5 separate regions of the Homo sapiens genome follow, and all the other regions are linked to region 5. The links are contacts of gene promoters, found by promoter capture Hi-C in blood cells and fetal thymus (Javierre and others, 2016). All regions are on one chromosome and are shown on one strand. The core of a region is centred on a gene start or on the middle of the fragment in contact, and the rest is flanking DNA. Distances in the headings are between cores, read along the strand shown.

Region 1 (2,700 bases), core at 136-2,635, 2.2 Mb before region 5:
TTCAGAGCTAAGAATGTCAGCCTTTAAGTGTTAGTTGGAGCCTGTGACTTCACACATTGCTCAGCAAATATTTATTAAGCACCTAGTTCGTATTAGAGACTGTCTCAGGTACTGGGAACACAGGGGGCAACAACATGGTGCCACTGCTCTCCTGGAGTTTGTATTCAAAATGGAAAGAAGCAATAAAAATTAAGAGAAGTAAGAAAATCTCAGATGAAGATAGTGTTAGGAAGAAAATAGTGTGAAATTCCAGTATGGGACAAGTACAGACAGAATAGCCAAAGAAGGCATCTCTGAAAGCTGAAAACTGAAAGAAAGAACCACCCACACAAAGATCAAAAGGAATAATAATCTTCACCAATAACAACAACTATCCCTTGCTGGAAAGTACTAGTGTATATTGACTCATGTACTCATTTTTAAGCCACTTTATAGAGGTATGAACATATAAAATCTGTGCATGTTTAATGTGTACAGCTTGATGAGCTTGGAGAGAAGTATACACTTATGAAATCATCACCACAACCTATGCCATAAACATATTTAGTAAAGTTGCAGGATACAAAATCAACATATAAAAATTAGTTGCACTTCTGTACACTAACAAGGAACTGTCTGAAAAGGAAATTAAGAAAACAATTTCATTCACAACAGCATTAAAGATAAAATACTTAGGAATAAGTATAGCCAAGGAGGCAAATAACTTGTACCCTGAAATGCATAAAATAATATTGAAATAAATTAAAGCAGACACAGACAAATGGAAAGACATCTCATGTTCCTGGACTGGAAGAATTAATATTCTTAGAATGTCTGTACTACCCAAAAGTGATCTACAGATTCAATGCAATTCCTATCAAAATCCCAATGGCATATTAACTCATTTAAGCTTTACTACAACAGTATGAGACAGGTATTATAACTATTCCCATTTTACATATGAAAGAACTGAGGCAGAGAAAAGGTCAAGAACTGTTCATAGTGGGTTAATGGAGGAGCTGGTATTCACATTGTGGTAGCCTGGCTCCAGAGCAGATGCTCATCTACAGAAAGGGAAAGTATAGAGTTCAGAGTCCCTTAGGAAAGAAGGAGCTCAATGTACTACGCAAAGAAAAAGGCCAGAGTTGTTGGAATGGTGTTTATAGAAGACAGGGGAGAATTACAGGCCCGATAATTCAGGACCTTGCAAATCATAAGGCTTATGGATTTTATTATAAGTGAAATAAAAGGATATTAGAGGGATTTAAGAAGGAAACAGCATGATTTCTATTTTTATATTTTATTTTATTTTAATTTCTATTTTAAAAATATAACTTTGGCTGCCTTTTGGCGAATACACTGTCAAGTTTGGTAAGGACACAGAGAAAGGTGGTAAGTAAGAGGTGATTGTGTTAATTCAGGTGAGAGCAGATGGTGATTTGGTCAGTTAGTAGAAGGGAAGAGAAGCCAGTGAATATTTTTGAAACATGACAGACATTATTGCTGATTGACTAATTATGGGAATAAGGAAAACAAAGGAGTTGAAAGCAGCTTCTTCATTTTTGAAGTTGAGCTATTAGATAGCTATTTCCTAAAAGGAGGAAAACTGAGGGAGGGAAAGTGTGGTGTGGGGAATTAGGAGGCAAAAATCAGGAGTTTTAGGGCACATTGGGTTTCAGAGACCTCTTAGACATGCATATAAAGATGCTGAGTGGGCCGCTATTGCAATACAGCACTCAGGGAGATACCAGGCCTGGATGAGAGAGTCCCAGGGGAGAGAAAAAGGCCAAAGACAGACTTTCAAAATTTTATTACCAACAAACTAGAGGTCTAATTGTATCGCTTATTTGAGGAGGAATTATATTTCACTATTTCTGGAATCAGCCTGAAGTGAACTCAAATCAAGCTTCACTGCTTAGTACTTGTGAGACGTCTCTGACACTCAGGTTCTTTACCTGTGAAAAGATAATATTAATAATACATACTTCATAGGATTATATGAGATAATATATAAGAACATGTAATATCATGGCTGACACATATGTGAAATATATGTAAATATATATGTATGTATATATAAACTCATAGTGTAAGTATATGCCACATATACACATATGAAACCATATAAATGATGGAATATAGATATGTAAGATAGATATAGGTATAGACAGATCTACGTAGATTTGTTATATATCTCTATTCCATCATTTAACCATTGTAAGTCTCAATTTCATCACCTATAGTAGAGAATATTTATGAAGAAAGGAAAAAATGGAAAAGAAACTCCATACCTTGTGGATGATAGGGTCCGAGTACAAGCACTTGAAACATGATTCAGAGCCATGCACAAGGAAGAATGCTCTGAGAAACATAGTAGGTCTGAATATATTCAAGTGTCCTTCATCAAAAAAAAAAATTCAAATTAAGCCCATTTGTATATTTGACTTTCATATTCTCTATTGTCCCTTTTCCCAAACATCGTAAAATAGTACTTTGATTCTCTGCCATTTTTAAAAAATCTCATTTATTTCTCAACCCATTGAAATCTGATTTGAGGATGATGAGAAATAGTTGAAAGACCAAATCCAGTCCTACCTTCCACTACCTTATAATCTCAACAACACCTGGTGTACTTGGCCATTGCATGTTCCTGAGAGGCTCTTTCTCCTTTGCCTCCATAATACCACACTGCCCTTCCTTCCAATTCTAGGACAGCTCTAT
Region 2 (2,700 bases), core at 65-2,564, 2.8 Mb before region 5:
GAAAGATCTAGCTCCTGAAATTTTACAAGTTTGATTGTGTTCTGATATTTTTAAAGCCTTTGAAATCAAATTGCATTATTTCCTTGATTAAAGAGTCTATAAATCTAATTTTTACTTAGTACTTTAACCCATTACTATCTCAGTGTAAATACTATTTAATAGTAGATATAGTATTCATATGCAAATATATTTGAATTGTAAAATAAGATGTATAAAAAGCTAAACATAAAAATTTTGGTGTCTATTTTGAAAAAGAATACACAAGGACTAACTAAATATTGGTCTTTAAGCATAAATATAATCTTATTCTTCTGAATATAATTATAAACAACATTTCCACGTAACTAAGTTATTTCTGTATCTGGTTAGTGCCTAAAGAGTGGTTTATATGATATTTGGAAGAAGCTATGTATCTTGATAAATAGTAATTAGGTTTTCATTTTATGATTTTATTTTTGGCTCAAATGATATATTTTCTGCAGCAGAATTTCTTTGTAATTAGCAGAATTAAGTTAGTTGCTAATTTAAATTCAATGGATTGCTATTAGCTCTAAGGTCACTTTTATTTAAACCACTTATAGGAAGGGATCTTCATTAGTCTTTTCTACTCCAGAGGTTATTCTGGAGTAATTTTGGTACCAATAAGTGACCAATTGGTTAAAGACCAGATTGTTCCTAGTTTGTTTGACAGCTGATCTATATCATAGTATCTGGAAATAAGGATAAGATCTTGAGAGTTTAGTCTATATTACTTTAAGAATAAAGAGAATTATTACAAAAAAATCAGGTTTTCTAAATATTTTTATTAAAAAGTAATTTTAATCTCAAAGGCAAAGTACCTGAAAGTATAAATGAGACGAATGACACATGGAATTATGTATACCCTTTAAAGATGGTAAAAGATCAATTGAAAACTAACATAAGTAAGCTAAAAATATTAGCATGATTTAAGAAAGAATCATCATTGTTTTTTCCACTGCTACTTCATTATAATTTTTGTTGTGCTTCTTGAAAAATAATTAAATGAAAGGGATGTGGGAACTTGGCTGAGGATTTATACTAGAGGGTAGTGAGAAAAAGTGTGACCCATTAATATTGGTACTGTGTTAATATGTGTCCTCCAAGAAGCTGAAGCCAGGAAGATTAGCTATGTAAGAAATTAATTAATGGCAATGCATGGGAGGGAAAATAGAGAGGAAGCTGGTGGAGGCTTGGAAAAGTATTTTACTGAGATACAGGTCTGATCCCAGATGAAGGACAGAGGGAAGGAAGGAAAAAAGATTGTGTTGAAATGACTTGGACTGCACTGCACTTCTAAGAGTATGGTCATGCCACTGGAAAGTCTTCCATTCAAAAATGCATATCAGAGGAGTTTGCTGTCTTCCAGGAGCAGGCCTGGTTTAAAATTCCTCCCATGGTCAGTCATTGGCTAAGAACAGCCTGTGGAATGTGTGGCTTTGAATAAACACAGTGATGGATTTCTGAGTACGGCGTCTGGGACAGAGAATAAATTACACTCCTCAGAGTTGGAGAGTGGCATATTCTCAGAGCTTCCATGATCTTAAATAATTACTTTTATCATTATATTATTTTGATACTTCATTTCTCCTTCAACAACAAAAAGTACTCTGAAATGAGCTTCAAGTCAGGACTGGATTGTTCAAGAAAGGAAAGGAAATCCTGGACTATAATGTTAGCGGAAATTTTGTTATTTTCTTATATGAAGATTTTTATCAGTAAGGTAGATAGTTTTGCTTCTTTTATCAGACTTTGCCCTTAAAATGGATATACGTTTGCATGTTTTGTGCAAACTTTCAAAGATAATTTAGTTTTGAAAATTATCTATTTAAAGAAAGTAAAAAATCCAATGACAGGCAATTCAATATTTAATCTAAGTGTGAGTTTCTATACAATAAAACTTAGTGAGTTTTTAGTGTCCATCCCCTGAGGAAGAGGCTGACAGGTAGGGAAATATGTGTAGTATGAAAGACTTAGTTTCTGTTCAAAGAAGAATTTCCTAAATATTAATTTGTTCCAGAAGTTGTTACTAAGGAGGTTTTAAAATATTTTTTAAAGTTTCTAAAAATAAAATACATTTATATTTCTCTGTAGCCATGGAAATGGCAATCTGTCCTCACCTCCTAGTCTGAATTGAAGTCCTGAGGTTACATTTCTGGGAGACCGGGGCTCATTTCTTTCAGGCCTATGACTGATTTCAGCCTGTCCCATAGTGGAAGGTCAGTTAGAAGACTACGGCAATAGTTCAAGAAAAAGATGAAAGTGGATTTCCAAAACAAAATGTCAATGATGAGAAAAAATATTATAACTAAAGGCTAGAATTTGTCATCTTACAAAAATGTCTGTGGTCGCATGATTTATATAGAATGTAATAATTGAAAAATATTAGTGTTTGTAATCTAAGACATAATAATGTATTTTACTAAATCAGGTTTGTGAATTATATATATTTTTATTTCACTAGAATACTCATTTGGGAAGATGGTAGCTTGGAAATCAACAACATTACAAGGAATGATGGAGGTATCTATACATGCTTTGCAGAAAATAACAGAGGGAAAGCTAATAGCACTGGAACCCTTGTTATCACAGGTAAGTTAATGTTTGAGGGTGCTTAATTTCTAATGTATTAAAAAACATGATTCAGCACTAAGCATCTAAACAGTCAATGTATTTGTAAGT
Region 3 (2,700 bases), core at 186-2,685, 2.2 Mb after region 5:
AAGAAATTAATATGGCTTCTAAATGACAACATTTTTAACAATAAGATAGTTATACTGCTTGATATGGTTTGGCTGTGTCCCCACCCAAATCTCTCTTGAATTGTATTCCCATAATTCCCACGTGTTGTGGGAGCAACCTGTTGGGAGATAATTTGAATCATGGGGGCAGTTTCCCCCATACTGTTCTCATGGTAGTGAACAAGTCTCACAAGATCTGATGGTTTTAACAGATGTTTCCGCTTTTGCATCTTCCTCATTTTCTCTTGCCACCAACCACTATGTAAGAAGTGCCCTTCTCCTCCCACCAAGATTCTGAGGCCTCCCTAGCCATGTGGAACTGTAAGTCCAATTATACCTCTTTTTCTTCCCAGTCTCAGGTATGTCAGCAGCATGAAATCAGGCTAATGCACTGCTCTACTCTTAGCTGAGGCATTCTTAGCTCCTTCTATATTAAGACAAATGATAGTTTCAAGGTCACATACTGTTATACTCCTCTAAAAACACAGACCCCTTAGGCTGGGTGTGGTGGTTCATTCCTGTAATCCCAGCACTTTGGGAGGCCAAGGCGGGATGATTACTTAGCCCAGGAATTTGAGACCAGCCTGGGCACCAAAGTGAGAGCTGTGATCACACCACTGCGCTCCAGCCTGGGAGACAGCGAGATGCTATCTGAAAGCAAAAACAAAACAAACAACAACAAAAAACAAGGACCCCTGAAATGAACATGGCCCACATGCATGGATATAAGTAACTTGGCAGTTTATGCTACAGACTGAGACTTGCTTAGTCTAAAGTTTCAAACCACAATCACTATTTGTAACGTTTACAGCTGAAAGCAGGTTAATTCATTAACTTACACTGAAGGCATTGTTCAGGTGTTTAGGTGACAAATACTGACAAATGCTGATCTCACAGAAGATAAATCACAGTGAAGAAAATAAACAATAAACCTAAGTTAGATTACACAATATGTTGCAAAATGATAAATGCAATGGAGAAAAATCTAGCATAAAAACAGATACAAAATATCGGGGGAAGGCTGTTGTTTTATACACAGTAGTTAGAGAAGACCACAACAGCGTAGGGGAAAGGAGATTGGAGAAAGGGTGAGGAGATGAAGTCAGAGAGGAAGAAGAGACTTAAATCATAGAGCCTTGTAGACCATAGGAGTATGGAATTTACTATGACTGAGAAGGGAAGCCATTTGAGAAAAGAAGTTACATGACCTGACATTTTATCAGGATCACTCTGGCTATGGAGTGTTAAAGACTGTAGATCAGCAAAGGTCACAGTGACTTTTTAGGAAGATATTTTTGAAAGCAAAATAGTGGTTGTGTTTTTACGTTATGTATTGAATTTTTATGTGTCTATGTACTAGGATTTCATACATTAAGTTCATAGACACAACTTAAAAAAATACAATGCAAAGATGAGTTTTGGGAATAGCAAGAGAATGATACTGGATATTTTAACTCTGGGCTCTACTCAGCACTACTAACAGTTATTACTGCTCAGAAGCAAGACAAGGTGCAAGGTTATTAACTTATTTTGGGGGACAGAGTATAATTAAAAATCTGGATTTTAAGTTTATTTCACTGGGCAAGGTAAGTCAAGGTACAATTTACATCTTAAAAGACAAAAGCAGGTGATAGCAGGGCTTGCTAAAGGGAAGTTACAATGAAAATTATTCTACAGTTGACTTTCTTTTTATTACTTTTATGCCTGCTACTCTCTTTAATTAAGGTGCTACAACTATCTCTGATATACTTTAAAAGTTCAGTATTAAGTTGATGGGTAGTATAGTACTGTATTTTCTGATTACTAAAAGATGTTACTGATGATGAATCAACAGTATCATGTAACTGCACTGATTCATCCTATCTCTGCTGAATAAAAGCACAGGTTTTCCAGAAAACTGTCTAAGCTCTAGTTGGTGCCAAAGGACGATAGAGAGCTAAGTAACTCCTGAAAAGTTTCGATCTTAACACACTAGCCCTATTACCACATGAAGGTATTAACAGAAAAAATTAAAAAATTATCCGTAAAATTTTCTCCATGACATGTTTTCTGGCAACATATTTAGAAACTTTAAATTTTCTTCTACAGTTTTCTTCCCCTTTATACTGAAGAATGTCTTTAAAGCATGAGTATACTTACAGTAAGCAAACATTCAAATTTTACCCCAGTGAAATCTTAAAATGTACTCAAACTCTCAGGCAAAAAGTTCACTATCTGAATGTGAAAAACTGAATGACTGTTAAAATATCTGCAAGCACCAAAAAATATTATAGCTAAAATGCAGCTACCCTAAGAACTGTTTTTAAAAAACTCACATTGCATAAAAAATATAAATTCAGATTATCCGATAGGATAATATAAAACAAAAGAAATCCAAAGACAGTTTCAAGATTTCATTTCTCTTGCTTAGTTAAAACAACAAAAACAAAAGGCCCATGAACTTTTTCTTGCATCTTTTAACCAAAATAGTGACATGATCAAGCCAACTGCCAAAGAAACAGGAAAGAGAAAGCAATTGTTTAGAAACAGACTTGATTACATGTCAAAATTTTAATACAATTACTAATAAAATACAAAAACCAACCGTTATTTTAAAATGTACTGCCCTGATATTCTGCTGCTGAGGTAGGTGGTGATATGTAGAAATTAATTTTTCTTTTAAAACGAAAAAATAATGCATTT
Region 4 (2,700 bases), core at 176-2,675, 2.3 Mb before region 5:
TTCTGGCTCTGATTAGTTCATCTTCATATTACTAGCTGTCAAAAGCCTCATGCTACTCATGAACACTGGTCAGGGAAATCACTTTTCTCACCAAAGCTGCCAAAAACCTTATTAAGACTCATGTGGAAGTGGCATCTTGGCACCACATTCTCCTCTGTGGGCCACCTCTCTCTCTTCCTTGCATTTCTCTTCTTTAAAGAGAAGCTAGGAAATTGATTTAATTAAAGTGCAATTCTCTGACGAAAGCACTTACCCAATATATTGAGATATAAACAAAGGATCTTGGCTGTCAGAGAGTAAGTATAGTGCTATCAAATAAAGATCTATTCAAGGAATACTTCCTCCTGATTTTTGCCTAATTTAAAGGAAGTCAGAGAGATTTTATTCAAATAATCCTACTTGAACAGTTTTAAAAGTATGCTTGCCCAATTCATTGTGTTCTGTGAGCTTTCGAGCAAATATTCAAACATTGAGAGTTTGTAAGAGCAATAGTCTCCTTAGCCTGCATTTTCATCACCTACTCCAATCCGCTCTCTACTTCATAAAACAAAGATCTGAGTCATGCCACTTTCCTGCCCTTTGATGGCTGGCTCCCATAAGCCCGTTTCAGTGGGTCACAGATGTACAATAGAATCACCTGGGAACTTTCAGAAGCTGTATCAGTACCTGAATCACTCCTTAGGCCAATTAAATGAGAATTCTTAGAGTAAGGCTTAGGCATCAGAAATTTTCAAAAGTCTCCCTAGGCAATCCTAATGTGCAGCCAAGTTTTGAAAACACTTCTTGAGACTTCGAGTTCCAGGAAGGCAGGGGATCTGTTTGTCTTGGGTATCTCTTTATTTTAAATAGCCCTTTGTATCAGACACAAATTGGATGTGTCAGGGCTTGCAACTAGATGCTTGGCATAAAACTATGAACAAAAATAAAGTCACTGCCTTCTAGAGTTTATATTCTACAAGGGGAGTTGAACAAAAAGCAAGGAAACAAATATATAATATTCATTAATACAGCCTAAAACATAGTAGCCATCCAACAAATACTTCCTTGAATGAATAATAATAGCTAGCTTGTATTAGCTAACTTAACATGCTTTCAGTATTATTCCAAACGTTTTGCATTTATTGACTCATTTAGTTCTCACAATAATCTTAGGAGGGAGTACATTATATTATCAACATTCTATGTCTAAGATGAGGGAACAGATATTAAGTAACATGGCCAAGATCACATAGCAAAAAAGTGACAGGGCCAGGCTTCTAGGCCTAAGAGGTCTGACCCCAATGCCTACCCCCTTAGCCAGTGCATCTTGCTGCTCTTCCTAGGTCCTGCAGACCTTAGCTTAGAGACAACCTCCTCTAGAAAACTTCCTAGGGCTGCAGTGGGTCCACCCCTACCATGTGCTCCCAAGGCTCCTGTATTTTTCCCTTAATTATTGCACTGTATTAAAATTCCCACTTTGCTGCTTTCCCCAATTAATAGGGCAGAATTGGATTTTGTAAACCAACATATTTCCAGCACTTGGCCTTGCATCTGGCAGCCACTAAATAAACGTCGAATGAATAAAGTGTTCCTCACAGCAGGGCTCCCTTCTTACTATCCGAAAGACAAGGGAAACACATCAGATGTCCAAAGCAGCAGGCTTCGATATTCCAAGAGCCCAAAAGGGCTATGCGGACCCAGTCCAGCTATAAGCAAGGAGATTTATCTGGTAGACACAAGGCAAGGTGCTGCCTGTATTACTTTTACCATTTTGGCCTACACTAGTTAGACCTGTGTGGAGCTGACAGCCATAGATAGTAGTGAGGAGAGGCTGGTAGAATATTTACGCTGACTATAGTATGAGGGCATGAGGATGGGTCTCTTGCCTTTCAACAAGGGAGAAGGGAACTAATTGATACTGCTATCTCCAATTTTTCAAAAAGATCCACACTGGCAGGAGTTAGAGGTCTCATCTGCAACCAACTTGTCAATTGTATTTAGGCTTTTTCAGTGTCTTTTAGAAATAGAAAAGGCCTTATGCTCTTTGCTGTTAAACTATGCTTAGTCTTCATATGGTATGATGTGTAGTCTTTATATCAGAACATACTAAATCGAATAACATGTTTACAAACTATTTAAAAATTTCCTAAAAGTTGAAATACATAAAAGCCATATCCTCTCATTTCCTTAATGTAATCTGCTCTCTCTGTCACTGAGAATTTTCTAAAGGTATTTTGAAACCTTGTGGCTTATAGGAGTTTCCACTGATTGATCGCCATGAATGTTCTTTAATATTTGTGTATATGTCCTTGATCAAAGAGGGGAAAATGTGCATTATGAGGGAGAGTGAGAAAGGGGGATCTTAAGAAAGAGAGGAGGGGACAATGTGAGCACATTTTAGAGTCTGAAAAAATAAGTGCTTTTGAAAATGGTTTTCAAAAAATAGTTTGCAGCTGTGGATTATGAAATTGGTAGTACTTTATGACAAAATACCCCTCTTTGAGTAGACTGCAATCTCAAATGCCACACACCCACGTATGGAGCTTGTCACATTCAGTGGAATGGAAGCAGGCCAGAAAGTATCAATAAAGCACCACGGACTGTCAGAGATTTCACATCAGTCTTTCCACAGAATACAACTCTGACCATAGGCCCTTATTCCTAGCATTCTCTCAGAAATTGCAAATTGATGGACTTCACGTAGAGGGAGAAAGAAAAGCT
Region 5 (2,700 bases), core at 72-2,571:
CAAGTGATTCTCTTTCACAAAACCCTATTTAATTTTCTGCATAGCAGTTCTAGGTAAAGTTTTTCTTTATTATTTATTGTATATCTCCTCCAAAGAGAATGTTAGTTCCACGTGAGGAGTAACCTTGTCTGCCTTATTTACTACTGATGATCACACATTTTGAACAGTGTCAAGCACATGGTAGGTCTGCAATAAATACTATTGTTAAATAAATGAAATAACTAGTACAAAATAAGAGCTGTAGGAATGAAGTGGAAGATAATTAGAAGAGGCATAATGCAAGAAGTGGCCATCTAAGTCCTCCATAGTTCAAGAGATAGAAATGAGGCAGAGACCTCACAAGTAATGTACAAACAAAACATGCAATGTGTGCAAGAAAAACAAGCAGTCCAGATACAGAGCAGTGGGGATGGGAATGCAGGGAGACTACAGTGCTGGAAAATGTAGCTGAGTTAGTACCAGATTATGGAAGATGTTGAATGCCCTGACAAGGACTTAGAATCTATTGGGTGGTCAATGGATGGCTACTGTTAGTGTTTGAGTAGAAAAGTGACACAATTCCAAAACATGCTTTTGGAATTGTAAGATGATTCTGATGGAAATGAGCAAGATGTATCCGATGGAGTAACAGTTAGAGGAGTTCAAAAACAAAACAGCATGGTCAAGAACATAGCTGTAGGGATTGGCCCTGAAAGAATAATGATCTTTTCTTTCTCCCAGAAAAAAGGAGGAAGACAGACATTCTAAGCAAGTGAAACAGGTAGGGAAACTTGGGGAGAATGTAATTCCAGCATCCTGGTAGAAGAGTGGAACTGACCTGGAGGACAGCAAAGGAGCCCACGTGGCGTTAAGCCTGAAGGTGCAGTATTCCCATTCAACAGAGACTGCTGCTGACAGTGGGCGGGGGAGTAGTTTGCTTGGCCCGTGGTTGAGGAATTCGTTGGCGGAGGAGGGATCCTGAGAAGGTACTAGAAATACTGAACCCAGTCCTGCAGAAGCTACTTAACTTCACAGAAAACTAGGGCGTCGTTGCCCTCCAGCACGTCCAAAGGTGTCCCCGACAAGGCCAGCAGCTCTACCTGTTTCTTCTCCCTCCTCTTACTCTGCCTGTCCAAAGGCACGACACTAGTCCACGTCACCTTTCTTTGGGCGCAAAGGGTATGGATCCTCAATGCCAACCTCGTCACCCCCCCCCCCCACACACACACACACACACACACATACAAGCCCACCATCGCGCAAGAAACTCGACCCCGTCTACCTCGGTTCAGTGGAAGGCATTCATTTGCACAACGCTGTGCGCATGCCCGGAAGCCTTAAGTGTTTCAGCCTCCGACAGGGGCGTAATTAAAGGGGCAGGCGCCCACGTAAAGACGCGCCCTACGCAATACGTGGAGTTTCTCACTTTGTGGAGCCGCCTGGAGGCGCCAAGATGAAGCCCATCGGGGAAGTGGGGCGGGGCCAACCCGGCAGGCCCCGCCCCTTCGCGGCGCTTCCTAGTTCGGCTGGTTCTTCTGTCGCCGGCTTCAGCAGCCCGCGCCCGGGCAGGTAAGGCATTCCCCGCCTTAATGCCTCGGTCAAACGTCGTCCGAGGTCCGCTTCCAGGCCTCGGCACCTCTGCCCCAGGGTTGCTGGGGTCGGCTGCGGAACGGAAATCTCTTTATCATCCGTGAGAAAAGTTAGAGAGGAAGTGGGTTCCTTTGACAGAGCTTACTCCAGAAGAAAGACTTGGGTAGGTCCCCGGTAATCAAGAAGTTCGTCGGCCCTGAGGAAGAGCCTGAGGCTTGGAGGGACGTCACCCAGCTGTTCTGGGGCGCAGTCGGACCTCAAGTTTCTCACCTCTCAGGCCCTGGATTCCGTGAACCCGACTGCGAAATGAAGTCTCTTTTCCCCAGAACCAGGAAGTCAGGCCAGCACCTGACAGATGCCTGTGGCGCCAGCAGCTCGCTGAGCCTCCACACGATTGTAATTCGCTTGTTTCTCCGGCCTCCAAGCTTCCAGGGAATTAGAAAGTGGAGGCGGCTTATGGGATCAGATGAGTACATTCGCAGATGGGGGAAAAAAGTGTACCTGTCAGCTTGGAAGCCAGAGGGAGACAAAGGGATAAAAGCAAACCCTGTCCAGGTGCGGTGGCTCATGCTTGTAATCCCAGCACTTTGGGAGGCCCAGGCGGGCGGATCGCTTGAGGTCAGGAGTTCGAGACCAGCCTGGCCAACATGGTGAAACCCCTGTCTCTACTAAGATACAAAATTTAGCTGGCATAGTGGCGGGCGCCCGTAATGCCAGCTACTCCGGGGGCTGAGGCAGGAGAATCGCTTGAACCCAGGAGGCAGAGGTTGCAGTGAGCCGAGATCGTGCCACTACACTCCAGCCTGGGCAACAGAGGGAGACTCCGTCTCAAAAGAAAAAAAAAAAAAAAAAAGCAAACCCTGAGAAAGCGAGAAAGCACTTTGAGCATTTAGAATGGGAACAAACGGCGCTATTAGTGCTTCAAAAACGTAACTGCCCAAGGCCCCTGGTAAGCAGAGGATACTAAAATCTGCCTTTTCCCTTTCTTGGAGTGGTCCTTGAAGAGGGCTATCGGGAAGTTCAAATTTCTTCTGTTTTCCTGCAGAGCGTTCATTTGAAGTTTGCTTTCTACCTCTCCAAACTGAGCTTCTGATATTCCAGGCCAAACTTGCTCCTTCCTCAGCCTTCTCT

What was found. Contacts are between HindIII fragments. The CHiCAGO score rates a contact against its expected background, and 5 or more counts as called.
Region 1: a contact is called between a fragment that was not itself captured here and the fragment with the promoter of PUS7L in region 5, in 1 of 17 cell types (erythroblasts). The highest score is 5.6, in erythroblasts.
Region 2: a fragment that was not itself captured here is called in contact with the fragment with the promoter of PUS7L in region 5 in 1 of 17 cell types (M2 macrophages); the score reaches 7.7 in M2 macrophages.
Region 3: a contact is called between a fragment that was not itself captured here and the fragment with the promoter of PUS7L in region 5, in 1 of 17 cell types (monocytes). The highest score is 7.2, in monocytes.
Region 4: a fragment that was not itself captured here is called in contact with the fragment with the promoter of PUS7L in region 5 in 1 of 17 cell types (M2 macrophages); the score reaches 6.3 in M2 macrophages.

What each region holds. Positions count from the first base shown.
Region 1 is chr12:41,523,460-41,526,159 of GRCh38, forward strand. All of the region lies in intron 5 of PDZRN4 (PDZ domain containing ring finger 4), which reads left to right. Among named protein-coding and RNA genes, the nearest start is that of PDZRN4-AS1, 110 kb to the left of the region's middle. The HindIII fragment of the contact is 996 bases long and covers 888-1,883 here.
Region 2 is chr12:40,941,115-40,943,814 of GRCh38, forward strand. CNTN1 (contactin 1) reads left to right here. Exons shown (of 24, transcript NM_001843.4): 13 at 2,483-2,610. Among named protein-coding and RNA genes, the nearest start is that of PDZRN4, 250 kb to the right of the region's middle. The HindIII fragment of the contact is 3,737 bases long and covers 1-2,700 here.
Region 3 is chr12:45,986,565-45,989,264 of GRCh38, forward strand. The region is part of intron 1 of SCAF11 (SR-related CTD associated factor 11); the gene reads right to left. Among named protein-coding and RNA genes, the nearest start is that of SCAF11, 2.7 kb to the right of the region's middle. RefSeq lists a silencer at 139-188. The HindIII fragment of the contact is 7,512 bases long and covers 1-2,700 here.
Region 4 is chr12:41,506,958-41,509,657 of GRCh38, forward strand. All of the region lies in intron 4 of PDZRN4 (PDZ domain containing ring finger 4), which reads left to right. Among named protein-coding and RNA genes, the nearest start is that of PDZRN4-AS1, 96 kb to the left of the region's middle. The HindIII fragment of the contact is 3,456 bases long and covers 1-2,700 here.
Region 5 is chr12:43,757,469-43,760,168 of GRCh38, forward strand. It overlaps PUS7L (pseudouridine synthase 7 like), which reads right to left and starts at 1,322. Exons shown (of 9, transcript NM_031292.5): 1 at 1,262-1,322. It overlaps IRAK4 (interleukin 1 receptor associated kinase 4), which reads left to right and starts at 1,483. Exons shown (of 12, transcript NM_016123.4): 1 at 1,483-1,548. RefSeq lists enhancers at 1,010-1,059, 1,400-1,509, 2,130-2,189. The HindIII fragment of the contact is 3,611 bases long and covers 1-1,992 here.